Linked DNA regions of Homo sapiens: region 1 is linked to region 2. The links are contacts of gene promoters, found by promoter capture Hi-C in human tissues and cell types (Jung and others, 2019). All regions are on one chromosome and are shown on one strand. The core of a region is centred on a gene start or on the middle of the fragment in contact, and the rest is flanking DNA. Distances in the headings are between cores, read along the strand shown.

Region 1 (5,680 bases), core at 2,391-4,890, 1.6 Mb before region 2:
CGTCTCCTGCTGGTGCTGCAGGGCCTGGCTCTGCTCACTGTTCAGCCGGTCCTGTGGGCAGGGGATGGGCAGACTTGCCAGGGTCCAGAGCCCCCACACCCCTGCTGCCCATCATTGTGGGCCTGAGCCCCACCTTTGGGACCCCAGCTATGCTGGCCAACCTCGAGGCCCACGCCAGGCACAGGGTCAGGCCCAGGGCGTCCATGAGGCAGGTGACAAAGACACAGGGGAGCCCAGCAAAGAAGGAAGTTGAGCCCTCTCTCCCACCGTGTGTTAGGGGACAGGCGGTGCAGGACAAATGTCATCTGTCCCATCTTCACCATCACCAGGGGGCACTCAGGGAGTGCCAGGCCTGATGATGGGCCTCCCATGCCACCCAGCCTGCCCACACCCTGCCAACTGCTGCCGGGTTCTCACCTGCTGCAGCCTCTTCTGCGTCTCCAGGATGTCCCGCTCCACCTGGTCGGCGCTGGCTTGCATGTGGGAGATGAGCAGGGTCAGCTCCTGGGTGGCATTCTTGGTGGGTGGAGGGGACAGTGGGCAGCTCGGTGGAAGAGGCCCCTCTGTGCCCCATCCAGGTGGCGTCCCCTGCCCTCTCTCCACCCCATCCCGCCCCCACAGCCTAGCACACTGCCCTGACTTTGGGGTCTCTCTCTGCAGGAGGCTCTGTGAGCTAGACCTGGTTGGGGGTGTTAGCACTGCCCCGCCACATGAGGGGTCAAAAGGTGAGGGTCTCAGGTCTGTGTGGTGCTGGGTGTCAGGCGGCCTCGGTGTCCCAGCCTCAGCCAGCTGTGCTGGCAGTGAGTTCCCGACCCCACCCAGCTGCCTGCCACTTCCCCCCTGTGAGCCGGTAGTACCTGAGCCAGCCTGGCTGGGCCCTGGGAGGGGCAGTTGGGCTGGCTGGGGCAGGGAGGCAGCAGCATGCCCCCCACCCCCACCTCCTCCCACTCCAGCCCTGTGTTCCCCTATACCTCCTCCACCCCAGGGAGCTTTGCCAGAGTGCTGGCTTCAGCAGCCGTCTAGAGGAGCCTCACACTGTCAGAGTCGGGGAGCGGGGGCAGGCGCAAGAGACTGCTGGGCACCCTAACATTCTCCAGAGTTGAGGGTTCAAAGCCCAGATTGTGCCCTAACTTGCTCTGAGTTACGTGGTCAGGGACGGAGGGGAAACCTTGCTTCCACCCCAGGGCTTTTTCTGTGCATTCGCCCTGCAGCCTCCATAGAGCACCTGCTGTGTGCATGCAGTCACTCTGTGGAGGTCACAAGGCCAAGCAGACCTAAAAGAGGGCAGATTGGTCCAAGCCTTATGAGCACAGTGCCTTATGGGGGATCATTATCCTGGGGCAGGGGAAGCCTTGAACTGGGTCAAAGGATGGGCCCCCCCAGGCAACGGGACAGTGCTGGTGAAGGCACAGCAGTCTGGAAGAACTCTGTGGCCAAGACAGCCTGGTTTCATCTTTCTCCATCATTAATGCTGTGTGACCTTGGGCAAGTTACTCAACCTCTCTGTGCCTGAGGTTCCTCACTCGTAAAGCAGGATTTTAATAAAAATATCTATGCCTTAGGGCTATTGTGAGCATTAATTGAATTTATCTGTCTGAAACATCCAGTGCAGGCCTGGTGCAGAGTCGGCACCCAGCACGTGTTAGTTTTTATCCCACTAGAGGGCTAGTGCCTTGAAGGCAGGGGCCTGTTGGTTCTGTCTACAGCGACATCTCCAGTGCCTAGAACAGTCCTGGCATGCAGTAAGTGCTCAGTAAGTTCATGTCAAACGAGTGGATCGCACGTGAGGTGATCCAGAGCCAACAGGGCCCTGAGGACTGAGCTGCCCCAGGCCAGGAGCACACTGCTGGGGAGCCTGCCTGGACAGTGGGAGCTGCAGGTGCTGGGCCCTGGGCACTCCTGCTCAGGTCCCGCCTCCTGGGATGGCTGCTCCCACCAGGAGCTGCACACTCCACCCTGGGTGGGGCTCAGGTGCCCCAGGGAGGACAGGTCACTCAGTGAGAGTGTTAGCTGAGAGTCTTAACCACTGTCTTTCCCGTCGGCCCAGACGCCCAGACTCGGTGTCTGTTGGTGCCTTGATCCCTATCGGGGTAATGGGCACCCCCACTCCCACACCAGCTTTTCATCCCTGAGCTTATCTCGACACCCTGGACCCAGGCGGGCTGCTGCCTCCTCTGCAGATGAGCTGAAGCCAGTGAGTGGGAAGAGCGCCACCCAATCCATCCACAGAGAGCTGAGGCTGGGCCCCAGAGAACCGGGTGGTCCAAGGGAGGCCCAGTGCCCCCTGCACCACACCCACTGGAAAAGGAAGCCCCAGCTCTATTCTGTTTTGTTTTAACAGACAGGGTCTTGCTCTGTCACCCAGGCTAGAGTGCAGTTGAGTGATCACGGCTCACTGCAGCCTCGACTTCCCGGGCTCAAGTGATCCTCTCACCTCAGCCTCCCAAGTAGCTCTGACTACAGGCATGCACCACTACATCCAGATAATTTTTGTATATTTTTTATAGAGATGGGATTTCGTCATGTTGCCCAGGCTGGTCTCCAACTCCTGGGCTCAAGTCATCCACCCGCCTCAGCCTCCCAAAGTGGTAGGATTGCAGGCATGAGGTATTGCACCAGGATTTTTTTTTTTTTTAAAGACAGAGTCACAGTCTGTCACCCAGGCAGGAGCGCAGTGGTGTGATCATGGCTCACTGAAGCCTCAAACTCCTGGGCTCAAGCAATAGGCATGAGCCACCATACCTGGCTGTTTTTTATTTTTATTTTTTTTATAGAAACAAGATCTCCCTATGTTGCCCAGGCTGGTCTCAAACTCCTGGGCTCAAGGAATCCTCCCGCATTGGCCTCCTAAAGTCAGGGATTATAGGCGTGAGCTACCGCGCCCAGCCATGAACCCCTAACTCTTCAATACAACAAGGCCCTGGGTGAGAGCTCTGGGGAGGGCTCTGGCTTAGGCAGGAGGCAGCACAGCCCCTGCATCCCTACCCCAGGGATCCCACCCCACCCCCTCAGTCCTCATGCCCTGCACCCAGGCTCCAGGGGTCATCCCAGCCAAGTAGAGCCTTGGGGCAGAGCTGCAGTCACACAACCAGGCTCTCCTGTGTCCCAGCCTCTGGCAGAGGAGGGCATCAGTGCAGGCTCCTGTCCGGCACTTCTCCCGCTGAGCAGCATCAATCTGTGGCCCACAGGCCCCCTTAGAGGATGTAGGGAGCCCCAGGCCATCCCCTGCCTCCTGCCAGGGCTGAAGTTCGGCCTGGGCCTGCGGCTCCCAAGGCAGGGAGAGAGTCCACCCCTGGGCCCTTTGTCCTCGGGACACCAAATGCCAGCACGGGGCTGGTCCTGGGCTCTGGGCCGCCGCCAGGTGGCTCAAGGACCTGGGCCTGGCACCACCCCCACCCTAGCTCCCTGGCTCCCCATCCCCTAGTCCCACTCACCAGCTGTGCTTGCTGGGGGAGCCTTTGGGGGACCCCTTGGCTGGGGAGTCCTTGGGGGACCCCTTCCCCTGGGAGCCTTTGCTCAGTCCCTTGAACATGGTCATAAAGGCAGGTGCTGGCTCAGGCTGGGCTTGGCTGGTGAAGGAGGGCAGGAGGGCAGGTGGGAGGCAGCGGGCGTCCTTGCTGGCTGGTCAGCTAAGTCTGGCAAGGTGGGGCGGCTGGGCATTGGGGAAGGGAGTTTCTGGGAGGCCCCTCCTTGCAGGTGAGGCAGCAGGCGGCCAGGCCCCAGGCCTGCCGCGCATGCACCCACAAAAACCACACTCATGCCTGCTCTTGCATAACCAGTCTGGGAGGAAAGGGCACAGCCTTGAGGGTGGGGCCGAGCCTGCCCGACTCCCACAGAAGGTTTGGACTTGTTACACCCACATGCCCAGGGGAGCGCGGTGGCGATTACACCCAGATAGGGAAGGAGCTGGGCCAGGACAGATGGGTCTGGAGACAGACGTGCACATGCAGGCGCAGGCTCAGCGGAGAGGCCCCAGCTCTGGAGCTCAGGATTAATAAACATCTCCAGCCAGCTCAGAGGCCCTGCTGCCAGGCTGGCCCCCACCCACAGCTCTCAATCCCCCAGGAGAGGAGGGGGTGTCCTGCCAGCCCAGGGCCTGGCTCTGTGTTCTCCACTGACATGATGGGGCAGCCAGGGGACGTTCACTCCAGACAACTGGCACAAGGTCCATTTTTTTTTTTTTTAAGAGACAAAGTCTTGCTCTGTCACCCAGGCTGGAGTGCAAAGGCACGATCTCGGCTCACTGCAACCTCTGCCTGCCGGGTTCAAGCGATTCTCCTGCCTCAGCCTCCCAAGTAGCTGGGATTACAGGTGTCCGTCACCACGCCCAGAAAATTTTTGTATTTTTAGCAGAGAAGGGGATTCACCATGTTGGCCAGGCTGGTCTGGAACTCCTGACCTCAAGTGATCCACCCGCCTTGGCCTCCCAAAGTGCTGGGATTACAGGCATGAGCCACCATGCCCGGCCCCATTTTATAAAGTGTGCACAGTGCAGCAGCACCAGGGCTGGCTTCAGGTGCCACTAAGCCTGGGCTCTGGCTGAGGCCCGGGAGCCCGATGCACTTGGCTTTTCCTACCTGCCTCTTCCCCCACCCAGAAATGGCCCCTGGTGGCTTTTATGAAGTCAGATTGAGTGGCAGAGAGTGATGCCAGCTTATTGGTCTTTTCCTCACACTGGGGACCAGGGCTGCTGCCTTTTCCTTCTGTGGTGACCCTCAGCGTCTTCAAGAAAGGGGCGATGGGACCCCCCTTTCCAGGCGCTCATTTTACTGGCCCAGCGTAACAGGCCCCTTCTGCAGAGGTGGCGTCGCTTTCCAGGTCATTCCTGAAATCCCCGTGGTTTTAGTGGAAGGAGGGCTTGAGGGGGAGCCAGGGGATGGAACAGGCGGACTGGGTGACATCACCTGGTCATCCTGGCAGGCCTCGCTGAGGACAAAACAGCCTGGCAGGAGAGAAAGGTCCCAGCAGATGGGGGAGACCAGGGACCGACACCTGATACTGGCCTCAGGCCCCCATGGGATAGAAAAGGCCTGTGCCCTTTTTGGGTGAATCTCATGGGAAGCTCCTGAACTCGGCCATGGAGAGGGGATGCAGTAAACCCCCATTCCTAGAGGTGGAGGAGCTGACAGGGGCAGTGGGGGTGGGGAGGGCAGCAGAGGCCCCTGACAGCAATGAGGAAACAAAGTGGTCTCCAGTGTCCTCAGCTCCCGGCCCATGTCTTGAGTGAGATGCCAATAGAGATGACTGGCCACTCAGCCTCTGCCCCAGCCTGCTCCCACTTTATTCCTGGTGACACTTGTCTTCTAACCACTCATTGTACGCCTGCAATCAACTGTCTTCAGAAAGGAGCCGTTTGTGTGAATGACTATGGGGGCCAACGCCAGCCTCACCCCTGGCCTCCCTGACTCACCTTTTCTTTTCTTTTTTTTTTTTTTTTTTGAGACAGAGTCTCGCTCTGTCTCCCAGGCTGGAGTGCAGTGGCACCAACTCAGCTCACTGTAACCCCTGCCTCCCAGGTTCAAGCAATTCTCCTGTCTCAGCCTCCTGAGTAGCTGGGACTACAGGTGCACACCACCACACCCAGTTAATTTTTGTATTTTTAGTATAGATGGGGTTTCAGCATGTTGGCCAGGCTGGTCTCGAACTCCTGACCTCAGGAGATTCGCCCACCTCAGCCTCC
Region 2 (6,404 bases), core at 1,134-3,633:
CCTGGGAGGGCCCCCCAGACCTCCTTGTCTCTAACAGCGGGTCATGGTGAGGGAGGCCTCTCTGTGCCCAAGGTGACCTTGCCATGCCGGTGCTCTCCAGCTGGGTATCTGTCCCCTGCAGTGGTGGGCTTCCTCTAAGTGGATGTTAAAGGCCCATCCAGTTCATGGAGAGCTAGCAGGTCACCAGGTTTAAGGTGCAGAGGCCCTGCTCTCTGTCACCCTGGCTGAGCCCAGTGTGCGGGTTCCTGAGGGCTGGGACTCCCGGGGCCCCATGGGAAAGTGTAGCCTGCAGGCCCATACCTCCCCCTGTGAATCACGCCTGGCGGGACAAGAAAGCCCAAAACACCCCAAACAATGAGTTTCCAGTAAAATATGACAGACATGATGAGGTGGAGGAGAGGAGGGACCTGGCTGGGAGTTGGCGCTAGCCTGTGGGTGATGAAAGCCAAGGGGAATGGAAAGTGCCAGGCCCGCCCCCTACCCATGAGTATAAAGCACTCGCATCCCTTTCCAATTTACCTGAGCACCTTCTCTTCACTCAGCCAACTGCTCGCTCACTCACCTCCCTCCTCGGCACCATGAGCACCTGCAGCCGCCAGTTCACCTCCTCCAGCTCCATGAAGGGCTCCTGCGGCATCGGGGGCGGCATCGGGGGCGGCTCCAGCCACATCTCCTCCGTCCTGGCCGGAGGGTCGTGCCGCGCCCCCAGCACCTACAGGGGTGGCCTGTCTGTCTCCTCCTCCTGCTTCTCCTCTGGGGGAGCCTACAGGCTGGGGGGCGGCTATGGCGGTGGCTTCAGCAGCAGCAGCAGCTTCGGTAGTGGCTTTGGAGGAGGATATGGTGGTGGCCTTGGTGCTGGCTTCGGTGGTGGCTTGGGTGGTGGCTTTGCTGGTGGTGATGGCCTTCTGGTGGGCAGTGAGAAGGTGACCATGCAGAACCTCAACGACAGCCTGGTCTCCTACCTGGACAAGGTGCGTGCCCTGGAGGAGGCCAACGCTGACCTGGAGGTGAAGATCCATGACTGGTACCAGTGGCAGCGGCCTGCTAAGATCAAAGACTACAGTCCCTACTTCAAGACCATCGAGGATCTGAGGAACAAGGTGGGTGAATGGGCAGCAGAAGGTGCCATTCCAGCTAGCTCCTTCTGGGAACAATAGATGCCCCAGGACACTGACACCTTAAGATTTCTCCATAGGACAGAGCCCACCCCAGATCCCTTCTTTCGAGGTCTTGGATGCCCTAAGAGCTGATCAGTGAGAGGATGCTCTCTCCTTCTCCAGCCTGCTCATCCCCTTCTGATGTCAAATCCTCAGATCAAGTGAGATCAGTGATTCCTGTCCTTACATTTTACAGAGGAAGCAGTTGAAGCTTTGAGAGGTGCTGTGACCAGCTGCAGGTCACATAGCAAATTAATGGCAGAGCCAAGGCTGGGTCCCTTGTGTCCTACCTTCCAGCACAGGGGAGGAGCGAGGCTCTAACGGGACCAGGCAAGACATCCAAACCGCTCATTAGCTCACTAGTCTGGGCTGTGGCTGCCGCCGCCCATAAGCCTTGGTACAGTCTGGTCCCTCCCCACAGCCAGGCAGGCATGGAGAGCCTGCAGAGACAATCAGTGTGGCCCCTTGACGTGCCCTGCACAAAGGGAGCCTGGCAGGCTTGTGCCCTGTCTCCAGCCCCCTCCCCCCTGCTCCCACATCACCTGGGAGCCCTCCCTGCGGGAGTCTGCTGGGCTCTAATGCCTTGCATGGATTAGGGAAATTCAATGATGATGTGGGGAACTCCAGTCAGACTCAGGGGCCAATATATCTTCTTATTCTTCCCCCGAGTCCTCTTTTCTAATCCCCTGTGTCAGTTGGGTTTTATCTCTTGAGAAAGTTCCATTTGAAGTCCCATGGCCCGTGAGCTTGAAAAGGAATGTGCATCTCTGCAGAGGACTGGCAGGGCTGGCTGTTGCAGAGAGAAGAGAGGCCAGCTCAGGAAGGAGGGCTAGGGAGCCTCAGATTATTCTCCTCACTTGGAGGTGGGGAACTTGAAGCCCCAAGACCCATTAGGTTTTGCAGCAAGTCAGTGGCAGAATTGCGACCAGAACTCCTGGGCTTTTGATTCTAAGCCCGGGGCTGCATCTACCCCCTCTGTTGACCATGAGTTAGCAAAGTCTTAGGACAGGCCTGGGGCATCTGTTTTCCTTTAGGCTGCTATGGTCAAGTTTTGTGGGGGGAAAGGGGAATTCAGGCAAGAACATGAAGCAAGAGCTTAATGTAGGTTACAGTGAAGTCCAGCTTGTGAAGTCCATTTGACAAATTACCTGTGCCCTTTCCATCCTGCAGATCCTCACGGCCACAGTGGACAATGCCAATGTCCTTCTGCAGATTGACAACGCCCGTCTGGCCGCAGATGACTTCCGCACCAAGCGAGTTTGCAGTGGTGGGCCAGAACATCCAGTGTCCCCAAAGTAGGGCATTTTTTGAGCAGTGTTTCCCAAATAGAACTAGCCAGTGCCAGAATAGCTGCATGAAAACTCCCTGGGGTGCTTATAAAAGAATAAGACTCTTGGGCCCCACCCTTGGAGTTTTGATTCAGCTATTTATAGCAGGTTAGCTGGGAGATTCTGGTCCACAGCCAGGTTTCAGAACTGCTGCTTTAGGGAGAGGCACTTTCCACTTCCCCAGCTGCCCTTGAAGTATAGGAGGGAATCATAGTTGGAGGACTTATGCATTATTTGTTGGCTGAAGCTAGAAGCGCAACCCCCTCCTGAATTCTGCAGCAAGATGAACTGCCTCATCCCCAGGCCCCAGGAATGTTCATATCTGAGCAATCAATGGGCACTGTGTTCAACCATGCCATTTTCAAGATTGGCTCCTTAAACCACCCACAAGGCACCAGCTCTGGGAGAAGCTGCAGGGAGAAGAGAACAAAGCCCTCACTGTGGTCAGGATGGGTGTATCATTCCTTTTCTCTGGGGTCATTCCAGGTATGAGACAGAGTTGAACCTGCGCATGAGTGTGGGGGCCGACATCAATGGCATGCGCCAGGTGCTGGGGTGCTGGACGAACTGACCCTGGCCAGAGCTGACCTGGAGATGCAGATTGAGAGCCTGAAGGAGGAGCTGGCCTAACTGAAGAAGAACCATGAGGAGGTGAGAACTATATGGAAAAGCCAGCTTAAAAGAAGCGCAGGGAGACTGGGTACGGTGGTGCATGCCCATAGTCCCAGCTACTTGGGAGGCTGAGATGGGAGGATCACTTGAACACAGGAGTTTGAGTCCAGCCTGGGCAACAAGGCTAGACCCTGTCAAAAAAAAAAAAAAAAAGAGAGAGAGAGAGGGAAGGGAGAGTCAAGATAGAATTGTGATTCTGGGAGGGCAGTATTCAGGCCTGACTAAGGAACCCCAATCTGCTGCCGTGGTGGAACTCCTGACTGTGGACTGTCCCTGGCAGTGCAGGAGATGAATGCCCTGAGAGGCCAGGTGGGTGGAGATGTCAATGTGGAGATGGACGATGCACCTGGTGTGGACCTGAGCCACATTCTGAACGAGATGCGTGACCAGTACGAGAAGATGGCAGAGAAGAACCACAAGGACGCAGAGGAACGGTTCTTCACTAAGGTGGGTGTCATTTGAGGTGGAAGGAACCCAGACCACCTGCCTTCTGGGGACTTCTGGTGTGAATGGTGTTCTCTTTTTTGCAGACAGAGAAGCTGAACCACGAGGTGGCCACCAACAGCGAGCTGGTGCAGAGCGGCAAGAGCGAGATTTCGGAGCTCTGGCACACCATGCAGAACCTGGAGATTGAGCTGCAGTCCCAGCTCAGCATGTTAGGAATGGTGCCAGGCCCGGTGGTGCACCCAGAACTGGCAGGGAGAGAATGGCCACACTCACTAATCCTTGATTCCCTTTCCCTCCCTCACAGAAAGCATCCCTGGAGAACAGCCTGGAGGAGACCAAAGGCCGCTACTGTGTGCAGCTGGCCCAAATCCAGGAGATGATTGGCAGTGTGGAGGAGCAGCTGGCCCAGCTCTGCTGCGAGATGGAGCAGCAGAACCAGGAGTACAAGATCCTGCTGGACGTGAAGATGCGGCTGGAACAGGAGATCGCCACCTACCGCCGCCTGCTGGAGGGCGAGGATGCCCAATGAGTCTTGGCCCTCCCCTTAATCCGCCCCACCATGGCACTCTCACGGCCCCACCATGTATCTAATGACCCTGCCCTTTTCTGTCTTCACAGCCTCTCCTCCTCCCAGTTCTCCTCTGGATCGCAGTCATCCAGAGACCGGTAAGACCTTCATCCTCTGCAGGCCTGGGCTCCAGGCCGCCCTCTGTACCCCAAGCAGGTCTAGGCATTGGCTAGGGGCTCCGTGAGGGGCTGAGCTCTAGTGATGTCACCCAGTTTCCCTTGGGAACCTCCTTGGGTGGAAGAAGCTATTTTCTAAACCCTCCTTAGGGCTAGGAGAGGCAGCCCCCACCTCTTACTTCTACCGGGTGTCTGTGGCAGATCCTATTGCTGTGGTGCTCAGCACCATGAACAGGGCCCTGCAGGGCTCCTCCCACCGAGACCACTCCATTGGGTGAATATGGACGGAACCAGCTGGGTGTGAGCTCTTAGGAAGCTCTAATCTGAAGACAAAGACTCTGTCTCTGACCTTTGGGAGCCCTAGTCTGAAAGAAATGTGTTGACGGTATCAGTGCTTGGGCAACAGCAGGGAGTGAAGCAGTAATCAGGGGAGAGGGCAACTGGGAGACAGTTTGAGTTTCCTCACCTTCTTGGCCTCCTTACTCCTGATTAGTCCATTGTCTGTCCACCTCTGGTAATGTCCTCTTTCCGCCTCTTCCCCAGTGACCTCCTCCAGCCACCAAATCCACACCAAGATCATGGATGTGCACGATGGCAAGGTGGTGTCCACCCACGAGCAGGTCCTTCGCACCAAGAACTGAGGCTGCCCAGCCCCGCTCAGGCCCAGGAGGCCCCCTGTGTGGACACGGATCCCACTAGAAGATCCCCTCTCCTGCCGCCTAAGCACTTCACACCTGGACCCTGCTTCACCCTCACCCCCTCCTGGCAATCAATACAGCTTCATTATCTGAGTTGCATAATTCTCACCTCTGTCTGGTCATTGTTAGGAGTGGGGATGGGGAGAAAGTGGGAGAAGCATCTCTTTGGAGCTTGTCATAGCACCTGGCTATGGCCCCTGGGACTGGGAAAAAGGTCCTGTGGGTGGGTTGGGCTCAGGTCCCAGGATATCTTTCGCCATCTCAGAAGACAAAGATAGATGTGTGTACCAGGTCATATGTGGCGTCTCCTAGGGTACAGAGAGATATTCATTCATTTCCTCACTCATTTTCATGTGTGTCCATTCATTCACCAGATATTGAGTGCCGCTATGTCAGGCACTATGTTAGGTTAAGGATTCCTAATGTTTTTGTGATCAGGGATTCCTTGGAGAATATTGAAAGCTATAGATCTTTCCTTCTGCCCCTACCTTCAAATAAGCACACATACATTTTCATATAGTTTCATGGGGTTCAGGGGTCTCCTAGAGCTCCTGGAGGTCCATGAACTGAAGGTAGGAACTCAAGCTCTCCTGACAGTCTTGTCAGGCAAAGCAACGACAGTGCAGGCAAAGCAACGAGGGTCTTGCCTGCAACACTGGAGGTTCCTTGATGGAAGGAACTATGATCCTCCAAACATCCAGTGTCCTCCCCAGGCCCCACAGGCACAGGTCTTTGATCTTAATGGGGGCTCAATAGGCCAGAGGGATGGGCAAATAATAAGCAACGGAGCTGAGAACCCAAGTTGCCCAGATGGTCCATGGGGAAGTTGGGTGCAGCCACAGTGCCACCGACAGTCAGGACGATGTCCCACTACGTGCCGGACCCACACCAGCAGTTTTACAATATGAGCTCTTTTAAGCCTCACAACAACCTCATGAGGCCAGAACTTTTTGTTGTTGTTGTTGAGACCAAGTCTCGCTCTGTCACGCAGGCTGGAGTGCAATGGCACAATCTGGGCTCACTACAACCTCAGCCTCCCAGGTTCAAGCAATTCTCCTGCCTCAGCTTCCCAAGTAACTGGGATTACAGATGCCCATCACCATGCCCAGCTAATTTTTGTATTTTTAGTAGAGATGGGGTTTCACCATTTTGGCCAGGCTGGTCTCGAACTCCTGACCTCAGGTGATCCGACCACCTTGGCCTCCCAAAGTGCTGGGATTACAGGTGTGAGCCACTGTGCCTGGCCAAGGTCAGAACTATTTTTTTTTCTCCCACCGAAATCCTTTGCTTGACTTAACCCACTGCCCTTTAGCCACACAGGACTCCTGCCCTGGCAGTCACTTTGCTTGTTTCCACCTCAGGACATTTGCACATGCTGTATGCCCCTCCCCTTTTTCCTTCTCCTGGCTCACTTCTCC

Evidence for each region. The method cuts DNA at HindIII sites, captures the fragments that hold promoters and counts their contacts. A contact is called where the count stands out against the background at its distance.
Region 1: a contact is called between the fragment with the promoter of EVPLL here and a fragment that was not itself captured in region 2, in 1 of the 25 tissues and cell types used here (dorsolateral prefrontal cortex).

The regions. Positions count from the first base shown.
Region 1 is chr17:18,375,738-18,381,417 of GRCh38, reverse strand. EVPLL (envoplakin like) reads right to left here and starts at 3,640. Exons shown (of 11, transcript NM_001145127.2): 1 at 3,435-3,640; 2 at 418-516; 3 at 1-51. The coding sequence starts at 480. RefSeq lists an enhancer at 838-1,339. The HindIII fragment of the contact is 26,383 bases long and covers 1-5,680 here.
Region 2 is chr17:16,816,667-16,823,070 of GRCh38, reverse strand. LOC105371552 (a long non-coding RNA gene) reads right to left here and starts at 644. Exons shown (of 3, transcript XR_934251.1): 1 at 563-644. It also overlaps the pseudogene KRT16P6. RefSeq lists a silencer at 4,685-4,885. The HindIII fragment of the contact is 7,379 bases long and covers 1-6,072 here.